Linked DNA regions of Homo sapiens: regions 1 and 3 are each linked to region 2. The links are contacts of gene promoters, found by promoter capture Hi-C in human tissues and cell types (Jung and others, 2019). All regions are on one chromosome and are shown on one strand. Each heading gives the region's core, a stretch centred on a gene start or on the middle of the fragment in contact. The rest is flanking DNA. Distances are from core to core; before and after follow the strand shown.

Evidence for each region. Contacts are between HindIII fragments. The study calls those that stand out against the background at their distance.
Region 1: a fragment that was not itself captured here is called in contact with the fragment with the promoter of PPFIA2 in region 2 in 1 of the 25 tissues and cell types used here (H1 embryonic stem cells).
Region 3: a fragment that was not itself captured here is called in contact with the fragment with the promoter of PPFIA2 in region 2 in 1 of the 25 tissues and cell types used here (lymphoblastoid cells).

Annotation. Positions count from the first base shown.
Region 1 is chr12:81,716,492-81,720,336 of GRCh38, forward strand. The region is part of intron 3 of PPFIA2 (PPFI scaffold protein A2); the gene reads right to left. Among named protein-coding and RNA genes, the nearest start is that of PPFIA2, 41 kb to the right of the region's middle. The HindIII fragment of the contact is 3,695 bases long and covers 411-3,845 here.
Region 2 is chr12:81,757,401-81,761,176 of GRCh38, forward strand. PPFIA2 (PPFI scaffold protein A2) reads right to left here and starts at 1,950. Exons shown (of 33, transcript NM_003625.5): 1 at 1,880-1,950; 2 at 1,000-1,107. RefSeq lists an enhancer at 810-1,748. The HindIII fragment of the contact is 8,978 bases long and covers 943-3,776 here.
Region 3 is chr12:81,791,401-81,795,000 of GRCh38, forward strand. No RefSeq gene overlaps it. Among named protein-coding and RNA genes, the nearest start is that of PPFIA2, 34 kb to the left of the region's middle. The HindIII fragment of the contact is 5,936 bases long and covers 1-3,600 here.

The DNA of each region.
Region 1 (3,845 bases), core at 1,008-3,507, 41 kb before region 2:
AGATTCTATTTCTCACCCAGAAGTTCTTCAACTAGATAGTAAAATACTTGGAAAGTACCAACACACACACACACACACACACACAAGCACACACATAGGGCGTTCTCTTCACACTGTCGGTGGAAAACACGAAAGCAAAAATAAATGCCTAAAAATGCATGTTAGAAGTGATGCTTTAAACGTAGTTTTGTTACTGGACTTACACCTGTGAAGTCAGAAAAACTTCTTGGAAGCTTTTGTTACATTTTCATGTATTTCACTTTTTAAAATTATTACTTCTGTTAGCAGATTTGTGCTAAAAATGTCTTCCTAGGTAAGACAGCAAATGTGCTCAGAAAGAGGTGCGAATGCTTTGGATAAATAAATGTTACCAGCTAGACAAGCAGCAGCTGGTAACCAGAAAAAAGGAAGTTCCCACCAGGAAAGAAAAAAGATTTTTCTGAATAGAATAAGTCAGAAAAAAAAAATGACAAGGTATGGCATCATAGGCCTTGTTGAACTAAAGACATTTCATGATCTGAAGTAATGTAATTGTAAGAATCCATGAGATAGTGGGACAACATGGGAGTTTAATCTGGGGTCAGCAAGCTTTTTCTGTAGTGGGCCAGATAGCAAATATTTTAGTCTATGTAGGCTACATACTCTCTGTTGCAACTATTCAAATTTGCTTTTGTACCAAGAAAGCAGTCATACACATTATATAAATGAATGATTATGGCTGAGTTCCAATACAACTTTATGGATGCTGAAATTTGCATTTCATATAATTTTGATGTGGCATGAAACAGTGTTCTTCTTTTGTTCTTTTCAACCCTTTAAAAATGTAACAAGTGTTCTTATCTTATGGGTGATGTCCAGATTTGGCCCATAGATCATAGTTTGCTAGCTTCAGGCCTAAATCATCATAGAACTGCAGGAAATCCAACACTGGTGGATAATAATAGTACCTTTATATTAATGAGCCTCTTTTTAATTGAATTGTAAGATGCTTGCAAGTGAAGAGGGTAAAGGTGCTGGGTGTACTTATTTTCCTTTGTTATTTGTTTATATGACTATCTTCACCCAGAAGCATAATGAGAGCTCAAATAAACCAGTGTGCTGCTCTTCCTAAAATAGTTAGGGCCTTCAAAACTAATATAGTCATTCAAAATTACTTAATTGAGCACCAATATATGCCAGGCACTGTCCTGGGTGCTAGGAAAACAATAGTGAATGAAAGAAACAAATTAACCTCAAGAAGCTTACCTTTCAGGATTGTGTCTTAGGACAAGCTCCATGTAAGGAGAATCTGAGATGTGGATTCTTGTATATGTGATGCAATGGCAAAGTGCTCTCAGGAGGAGGGGAATGGGGAAGAAGGACAAGGCAAAACATAAAAAAAAACCTAAACAAGAATATGGACTTAGCTTCAGACTACCGTCAAATTGATCCCATGGAGAAAATCTGAAGTAGAAACTGTACCACAGTTAGCTGTACTCTGAGGCAAGGGGGCTGGACTTTTGTACTCCTGTCCCTCACTGGAGAGGCACCTCCTATTTGGCCTGAGGGTAATGCTTCCAAGGGAGACAGGAACATTCCTGAGTGGTCATTAGAGAGATCTGGGCATAAAACTAACATCATCCACTACAGAAGGGTGACAAATAATAAATATAAATATTAAACATTTTTAATATGTCAGGTAGTGACATGGCTTTGTGGCTAGAGGAAGACAGAGAAAGATATAGGTAGAGGGATTGATTACTCTTTTACATCAAGTGGCCAAGGAAGTCCTCTGTGATAATGTGAAATTTCAGAAGAGAACTGAGGAAACTGAGTCCCAGTCATTCAGTTATCTGAGGGAAGAGGAGTTTTAAATCAAGACAGAACTAGCCTTAGAATGTTCTAGAATGTGTGAGAAGTGGGATGTGGCTGAAGTGTTAAGGATGAGTGGAGAGGTAGAAACTGAAGCTAGATGAAAGGGGTCATGACAGATTACATAGGGCCTTGAAGAACATTGTAATGTGTTCAGCTTTTACCCTAAGAAACAAAAGCACCAAGTGCTACAAGTATGTGCATTATACTTGTAGAACCCAGACGGGCTCTCAAAAACCATCTGGTCTAACTTCTCAATTTTAGAGATTTGTACAGTGGAAAATCTCTTTGAAGATAAAAGACAAGGATAGAGTTCTAAAATGTATGGAAAGTGACTTCCCATTTAATACATTTGAAGAAAATGCTGCTATAAATATTTGAACAGTTTCTACAGATTATGTTCATTTGTTTAAGTCCTGAATCTTAATGTCATCCCATCAATGGCAAAACTGTGAGAGGATGAGAGACAGCTGGCTGATGCACAGAGGATGCATGCTCACTGTCTGACGTTGGCTTGGCATTTATTCTAGCTGTAATTTCAGCACGTTGGGAAAGGGAAATAGTGATAATAATTTCAAGCAAGTGAGCTGTATTTTCTTTACATGCAGTGGTCAGCTACTGCCAAGATGACTATAGCTCCATAAATTGTTATTTCCACCAAATCCAATGCAAAATATTTTATGTTTAAATTGACAAATAAAGAACAAAAAACTATTCTTGGAAGATAATCATTAAGTAGTTATAAAGCAATTTAAAAATAACATTGCATATGAATTCCCATTAACAATAGTGGTATCTTGTGACTTCTATTAGTTTGAAAGAAATATTCCACTTCATGTTAGTACTGGACTTCATAGAAATATTTATTAGTGGGTTCAGCCCTCTGTTGTTGGTGTTGTTCAATGTATAGTAACTATACCCAATGTTTCTAATAATTCAAAAATATTTTTATGTTCCAATGCAAAGCCATATCTTGTTTTCTTGAAAGAGAATTTCTTACATTTCCAGCTCTACCTTAAATGGTCCATATCCTAGCTCTGATGTCAATTCTCCTATATGCAAGTTCTGATCTTAATTCTGCTTCCTGATTCTTTGCTATTAAAAAGTTCTCTGGGGTGATGATTACCCCTGACGGAGGAGATGTCCTTGAAACAGAAGCCTAATTTTCATCTCCTGTGTCATACTTCTTCTTCCTCCTTTTAAATATGTTGAACTACCAATGACATCAAAAAGAAATTTAAGCCAAAGTGAAGCATTTGGAGGAATTAAAAAGTTTTAACTGAACATCTTTATATATCTTAGTTTAATTAAATCTATAATTAAAACAGCATTGAAGCATACATCTTAAAAAGATCACAGATGAAAAATTCAGTTATTTCCTGAAATTTCAATAATATATACATATTCTAATATCTAGGTGAAACAAATACATTTCAAAATGTGTTGTTTAAGTTCACTGACCTTAAAAAAGCAACATATTGCTGATAAATAACATCATGACATACTTAGCTTAATTTACATAAATAAGCTTTTAAAAATATATAGAATATTTCAGTGTAAGGGAACATTTATTCCATTTGCTTACAGTTAAAGAGTTATGTTTGTCTTATTAATAAATTATATCCATTCTATCTGTATTTAGAGTTAGTAAATTTACCTGTAAAATTGTGTCCATTCTATCTGCATTTAGAGTTAGTAAATTTAAAAAAAAATGTAATTTAAACATAGTCTGGCATTCCCTACCTTAAGAGGTCAAGTGTAAATTCTTGTGAAATTACCTGTAATATAATTGGTGAAGAAGCATGGCCTACATCTGCCCAGGTTTTAAATTTCAAATAAAAGCAACTCCCTAATTGTTACTCTCTTCTGTGCAGAAACACTTGCTCTCAACAGGATTCTTTAATTAGGAAAAGAAATGTTTCTGTAAAAGGCTCTTACTGATTATACAGTAAAATGCTTTGGGGGAAAAATTGCTTTAAATTACTGACACTAAA
Region 2 (3,776 bases), core at 700-3,199:
TCAAAGTCAATTTGATATATAAATTATGTTATCTTCATCTAGATATTGATGCTTTCCTCATTAAATTACTGAAGGTTTTGAAACCTAGTCAGAGACATTGTTAATTTTGTTGAGAAAGAAAAAAAGTAATAATAAATCTGATTGGCTTAATTATCCCAGTGCTTAAATTTAGCCGGAAGAATTTTATATCAGGAAAATAACTCCTTTATTCTTAGCACATAGCCTTGACTGTCTTTTAAATTTCTCAGATTTCAAAATAAAAGTTTGAATGCCCACTGGAGTCCTCACTCAAGGGCTTTCAAGATCCAATGTGTTCCTTAACAATATATGCCATCCAAGCAGTACCTCTTCAGATATGAGAGTGCTACAAAAAGCTTTTTTTCTTTTTTCTGTCAACAAATGACTTTATTTAATCATATCACTAGGAATTCGGCCCTACTAGAGGTAAGAATGTAATTATTATCCATAGTGAGTTTCTTCTGAAAACATTTAGTCTTAAGAACCATCCCAGCTCCACCTCAGTTAACCTACAAGGAGTAATTCAGTGAGAGAAATCCTAGCCATTGTCTGATTACATTACATGAATATTCTCCCTCCTATTTAACTCTTTGAAAGCCTCTGTCCTCGGGAAATATGATTATCACCTTTAATGGACACATTTTACACTTTCTTTACCCTAGTGCATTTACGGACAGCCAGAGCCAGCTCAACCCACACTACTGGACAGTTATCTCTCAGCCACACCCCCCACCACCTTGAAGAAGTTGACTTCATCATTTCCACACTAAAATTGTTCATCCTGCCCAACAGGACACAGCCAAGTAGGCAGGAGGTAGAGAGATAGGAGATGGAGAGGATGAGGTGAAAGCAAAAGGCACCTAACGGTAATCAACAAGGAGGAATTTGCATCTCATCTTCCCTGGGGGCGGGGTGGGGCCGGGGAGGTGGTCAAAAAATACAGCGAAAGGAGACAGTAAAACTCAAAGACAGCTTCTGTACCTAATGTCTGTGATTTCGGGTCCTTGCTTCTTCAATTGATCAATGACAACCGCAGTCTCCGGCTTGAGGAGAAGGGAGGCTCACACCCAGCACTCCTGGACCATTTCCCTAGCAACGGGAGGAGAAAGGCAGCTCAGACACACGCGTGCCCCGGCGCCCTCCCGGAACGTGCCCCGGCCCGGTGGCGTGGCAGGAGCTCGGCATCTTCCCGTGGCTCCGTCAGCAGCCAAAAGGAGAAGCGTCCATCGGAAAAATGGCATATTACAAATTTTGCTTTGGGAAGCAAAGCTCGGTTCAGACCATTGTCAAAGGAGGAGAGGGGGAGGCGGCTCTTAAAGCAGCCGCGGCCCCTTTGCCAGAACAGCCGCAGCTCCCCGCGTGCAGCTGGAGCCCCGGGGCGGAGACCGGAGACCGGGGACTGGGTTTGACTTTCAGAAACTTAACCACGCGGCGCCGCTCCCCCTCCGCGCCCGGGCCACCCGGGGTGTGTGGGGCGTCCCTCCAAAAGAAAGCTTGGAGAAAAGGCGTGAGAAGTATCTGGGAGAGAAGTTCTCCACCCAGTCTCCCCTCCTGGAGCCCCTCTGGAGTTTAAGGCTAACCCTGGGAGTTAGAAACCTAAAGGAAAACGAGTCCCTAGGGATGCAAAAAGCAGGACAGGTCTCCTCCTGGCCCCCAGCCTGTTTCCGCGCGCTCCCGTGTCTCGTTTCACTTAAAGGAGGCGCTTTTTCTCTGGAAAGGCAAACATCACCCCACGCCGTCCCCCGGCCCCCCTTCCCTCCCCCCCGCCGCCCCCCCGCCGCCACAGCACACACACCCATTTTTCTCCTCCCGGCCTTTCTGCAAGCCTCTTTGCTTGCTTCAATTGGCCGGAAGAACCAACCTGCTGGCAGCCGGTGAGGACGCTACAGCATCTTCTCTCCTCACTTGCCTCGTGCGGTGGCTGCTACTCCTCCTCCTCCGTCTCCTCCCCTCCTCCTCCTTGGCAGCCACCACCTCCTCTTCCTCTGGAACAAGGGCTTCCCCTGGAAGCTGCTGCAGTGGTTTCCACCGGCCCTTAAATAAATTCTGAAGTAATCACGTCTTTGCTCTCCTCCTCACGCACACGCGCCCGCGGATACACTCGTCTCCCCCAGAGCCGCTCCCGGGCTGCCGAGGCTCGCTCTGCTCCCAGTGCCCCCTGCGAAGGCGAGGGCCAGGGATGGGCAAAGTGGGAAGGGGGCACACGCTTCCCCGCCTGGGCTTCTTTCACACAATGGGCTCTACAGCCTTCGCTTGTGTCAGCCTGCGCTGGTGGGGATGGGAACGGACTTGGGCACCTTTTGGCTCCCCGGTCTTCTGTGCTTGTCATTTCTTTAAGCAGCTTTCTTCCCACTGGGCCAGGGCATGGTAGTCATGGTTGTAGGGACCTGAGCCAATCTAGGGTGTGGCGGCATCTGTCATTTCTCATTACCTCTTCAGTTCTTCTTCATTCATATTGTTTTGGTAATGGGAATTGTATGTTAAGTATTCCCTGCCCGAGTAAATTTTAGCTTTGAGCAGAGTCTGGTCTCTCCATCGCGCTCCAGTCCCCCTTATATCTCCACCTCCCTTTACCTACCCTCTTTTCTTTCCGTTGCTGCTGTCCATTCATACAGACTGAGGAAGCAGGAGACAAAATCAGTACCTACTCTGAGCAGAAAGGGAACGTTTCTGTGAGGGAGAGTCACGAATCCTGCTGGGTTTGGTGAAAATGAAGAGGACATGCATGAAGGAATTGGAGGATTAAACACTGAATATATTTTGGGGGTTACTGAAAATATTCTGAGTGTGCTACACGAAAGCCAAAAGACGTGTTTTACTTTTGTGTAACGCCAAGAGTCCAAAGTTAACAAAGAACTAGTATGTAAATAACTGTTCACTTAAAATTAACTACAATATCCAAGAAACAATCTTTGTTTCTGAGGGAAGTATTTAATTCAGTTAGCGACTTTACAATGGAAAGTGGGGTAAAGCTCATGTATTTACCCAACTTCTATTCTAGACTGTTATTTAAATTTTACAACACAACACAATCCTATAAGAAGTATAAAAATAATACGAAAATTCATTAGATGTCAACTGGAGCACTATTTCTCAGACATAATGTGCATACAGATCATCCATGGATCTTGTTAAGTTGTAGATACTGATTCACCAGGAATGGGGTGAAACCTGAAATTCTACCCTTCTAATGACTCCCAGATGGTACTACACTTGAGGAGGAAGGGTCTAGACCACCCAATCGACCCACAATTTGATGTGGCTTAAATACCCCTAACTACAGGAAACTCTTCACCTCACAGGATAGCCTAGTCTATTTTCAGACAAACTTCATATTGTAATAGCTTCAACATACTAATCATATATCAGTACTCATAACTTTCACTCTCTAGAATTCTACACAAAACATAAAAATTCCTTATACATGAGAGATATTCTTATTTTTACATATAGCTATTATGTCTATTTTTACAAGAATTCCTTCCTTATTAAACCTTGGTTTGAATTTCCTTGGCAATCAACGTTTGTTAATTACTGGCTCAGATGTTCCTACTGTTTCCAAGAAGAGTTTTGATTTCCTTGAGTCCCATTCGTATGTCAAATACAAGTTTTAATTGTAAGTATAATCCCCACATACAGTTGACACAGCATAGTTAAAGGCTAACCCATGGTAGGTATCGCAGAAAGAAAAACTTTGATAATGGGAGGCAGAAAAAAATATCACGAGTTAAAGGATATTTTGTTAAGAAGATACAGTC
Region 3 (3,600 bases), core at 895-3,394, 34 kb after region 2:
TAAGTATTATTATCATTATCTTATATAAGGGAAACTAAGTCACAGAGAAGTACATGACTTGTCTAATTCCACTTTTCTGAGTAAGTGGCAAAGCCAGGATTCAAACCCTTGGCTACAAAGCCCTCTACCCCCACAGCACAACATACTGCCTCCTAGTAATCTGTATTAGTGTTGACGATATTTGATGTCAAAATAAACATTATCAACAAGAGGATGAAAGAAAAACTACCGAGTTTGCTGCTGCTTTCTCTGTTTGCTTTATTTGCTTGATTATTAGAGCAAGGTAGGAGAAGCAAAGACAAGAATCGAGACAGATGGCAGGAAAAACATTCAGCAGAACTGTGCACACTGCATATTGCTCTTATGTGACACATTTCCCATAATTCAGTAAAATATACAGAACAAGTATTAATAATAATAAGCTTGCTGAACTTACACACCAATTTATAAGGAAATTGAGGAGAAATAAGAACAAAGATAATTGTCACCTAATCATTGTCTCCAGGCTAATGGAAGAAGTAAAAAAATCTTGAAGCCATCTTCCTTGAATGCAGAATAACTTTTCCAACAGGAGATACCAATGCTTATCAGGAATTTTAGGTTGTGGTTTTTTTTTTTTTTTTTCCATAGACACATGGAAGGCAGCATGTATAAAGAATTTCCCTGAAGTCCTCGGTTCATACTGTATAATAGAGGTGCTCAAAACACATTTCCTACATGTTTATAGAGCATTGTGCCTGATTTCCTGTGTAATCCATTAGGAAAAAAAAAATCCTTAATCCCACTTGCAATAGGGTAGAATTTTCTTTTTCTTTTCTTTTTTTTTTTTTTGAGAGGGAGTCTTGCTGTGTCGCCCAGGCTGGAATGCAGTGACTCCATCCTGGGAGTCACTGACAGCATCTCAGCTCACTGCAACCACCGCCTTCCAGATTCAAGCAATTTTCCTGCCTCAGCCTCCTGAGTAGCTGGGATTACAGGCATGCGCCACCATGCCTGGCTAATTTTTTTGGTTTTTGTATTTTTAGTAGAGACGGGGTTTCACAATGCTGGACAGGCTGTTCTTGAACTCCTGACCTCATGATCCACCCACCTCGGCCTCCCAAAGTGCTGGGATTACAGGCGTGAGCCACCGTGCCTGTCCTCTTTTTCTTTTTCCTGCTGGAACGTGGTAGACAAAAATTCCTCTATTTAAAAAATAACTCCTTTATTATTCAACTTCTATACTACCTAATCAGCCCTTGACAGCCAGCCAAAGGCAAAAATTAATTTTTTGGTTAGAAGATCCCACACAGAATAAGTTATCTGTCATTTTACAAAATGTCTGAGTTAACAACATCTAAAGTTCTTGATTTTGAAAACCTTTGTTGAAAGTCTAAACAAAGTATTACATCAGCACTCTACTTTTGACACTCAAAATCTCTGTGTCAATCATCTTACCCCTTCTCCACCTGCAGGGGCATTGGCACTCTTTCTAATTAGATTAGTTCTCACCCATGATAATAACAACGTGGACAACCTTTGTGAATGTAAATGTTACGTGAATTTTGCATGCAGTCAAAATTGTAGAAGTCTTGAAATTCTTTTTATAGAAATTTTATTCTAATGTCTTTCTTTTGTCAGGGCAGGATTGGTTTTATTCTAAGGTCTTTCTTTTGTCAGGGCAGGATTGGTTTGTCAAGAATAGTAGTCTAGTGAATTTTATTACTTTCTAACACTACAGGAGAGAAAACAGAGAATGAAGCAGGAGAAGAAAATCTAGTGGTATACGGCAATAAATACAGTTTTTGAATGTGAGTAATATCACCAGTAGTATCCTTCTGAGGGTGCAGTATTCGTTTTTTTTTTCAGTAATACATGTCAACATTTAAGGCAGGCAATTATCAATATTACTATCAATTCTTACCAGTATTCATTTTTCTGGAAACAATAAAAACTAGATTCCCCCAGCCAAATTATGTTAGTGAGAGGAAAAACCAAGGGCATGGCTAAAATATGTCAAATAAAACAAAACCTACTTTGTAAACACAAGATGGCAATTTACTCTCTCTATTATTAATGTAAATCTAAACAATAACATCAATTTGTTGTAGCAAAAAGAGAAAAATGACTAACCCAGTTTGGATATATTCTGGCATAATTCTTACATGGCCACAATTTAGAGAATTATAGCATGTTGAAAATATGATATCACTTTATTTATTCTAATAAATATATTGCTGCAAGACTATATCAACTTCTGAAATAAAAGGCACATAGAAAATTTAAATAAATGTTATTAAAGTGAGAAAAAACAGTTAAAATAATTGGGCTAACTTTTCGTTGTAAAGTATGATATCATAAAGAATAATAAATGATTTTTCTATAATTAACTGAAAATGCACTTGAAAATTGCACTGTGTAGATATGTTAGAATTGTGGATTTCACAGATGTGATGGGGTCCTCATGATCACGTTTGTACTTACTTGTGCCCATCATGCATCATCTTCAGAAATTTTTGCACATTTTCCCCTAAATTAGATACAATTCTAGGAAGCAACAGCTTGCAATGTAGACTTTATTGGGAGATTCACTGTAGCCATACAGCAGAAATTAATAAAAATCTAAGCACTTTCTGTTCCACCCTTTTCACCTAACTTTCTCTTTCCTACAGGCATCTCCAACATTTAAAGCTACAGCTTTTCAAACTCTAGAACCTGTCAGCCAGCCTTCATTGTTTCATGGTTTCTTTTTATAACATAATTCAGTTATCCATCGACCTCCAGAGTCTTGCAAATTTCCTCATTCTTATCAGCCAGCTCAGCAAATAAAGCATGTTCCTTATTGCGGCTTGAAACAGTAAATATTTTTATATTACAAATAAGCCATTTTAACTTACATATAAAATAATTATCTGAAAACAAAAATGTTTAAGCATTTGAACAGGAGAGAAAAATGAATTTATAGGACAGATTTATAGAAATTTATGGGCACAGATTGGTTAAACAAAAAATAAAAACAAAAACAGAACAAAACAAAAACCTCAGAAATACTGATGAATGAGATATAAAATTTCTTACAGGAATCTTTATTAAGTTCTGCTGCATGGTAGCAATGTTTCCACATCTTCAATAAATTTTAATAACATTTATTTATAAAAAAAGATTTAAAGAATATAAAGCCAAGCTTCAGATAGATGATATTTGTAATATTTATTTCTAAAAGATAACTGATGTTCAGAATATTTTAAAATTCAAAAAAAAAAAAATCTACCAAGAAAATGATAGATGACCCTTTTAGAAAAGGAGACTAATGACAAAACATCTCTCCACAAAAGAGGAAATTACAAATGGCCTTTAAGAATATGAAGAGCTGTTGCATATTCCAAATGATCAGGGAAAAGCAGATTAACAATGAGATACTATCTTACACTCAAAAGCATGGCTTAGATAGCCAACAATGAAAAGTGTTGGTGAGGGCAAGGAATATAACTTCAACTCTCAAACACTGATGATGATGCATAAACTGTTATAATCTCCTTGGAAAACTGGCAGTATCTAACAAGCTGACTATAGTCAGCTATACCTTGCATCTCCACTGTTCCACTCTAAAGTATACACATA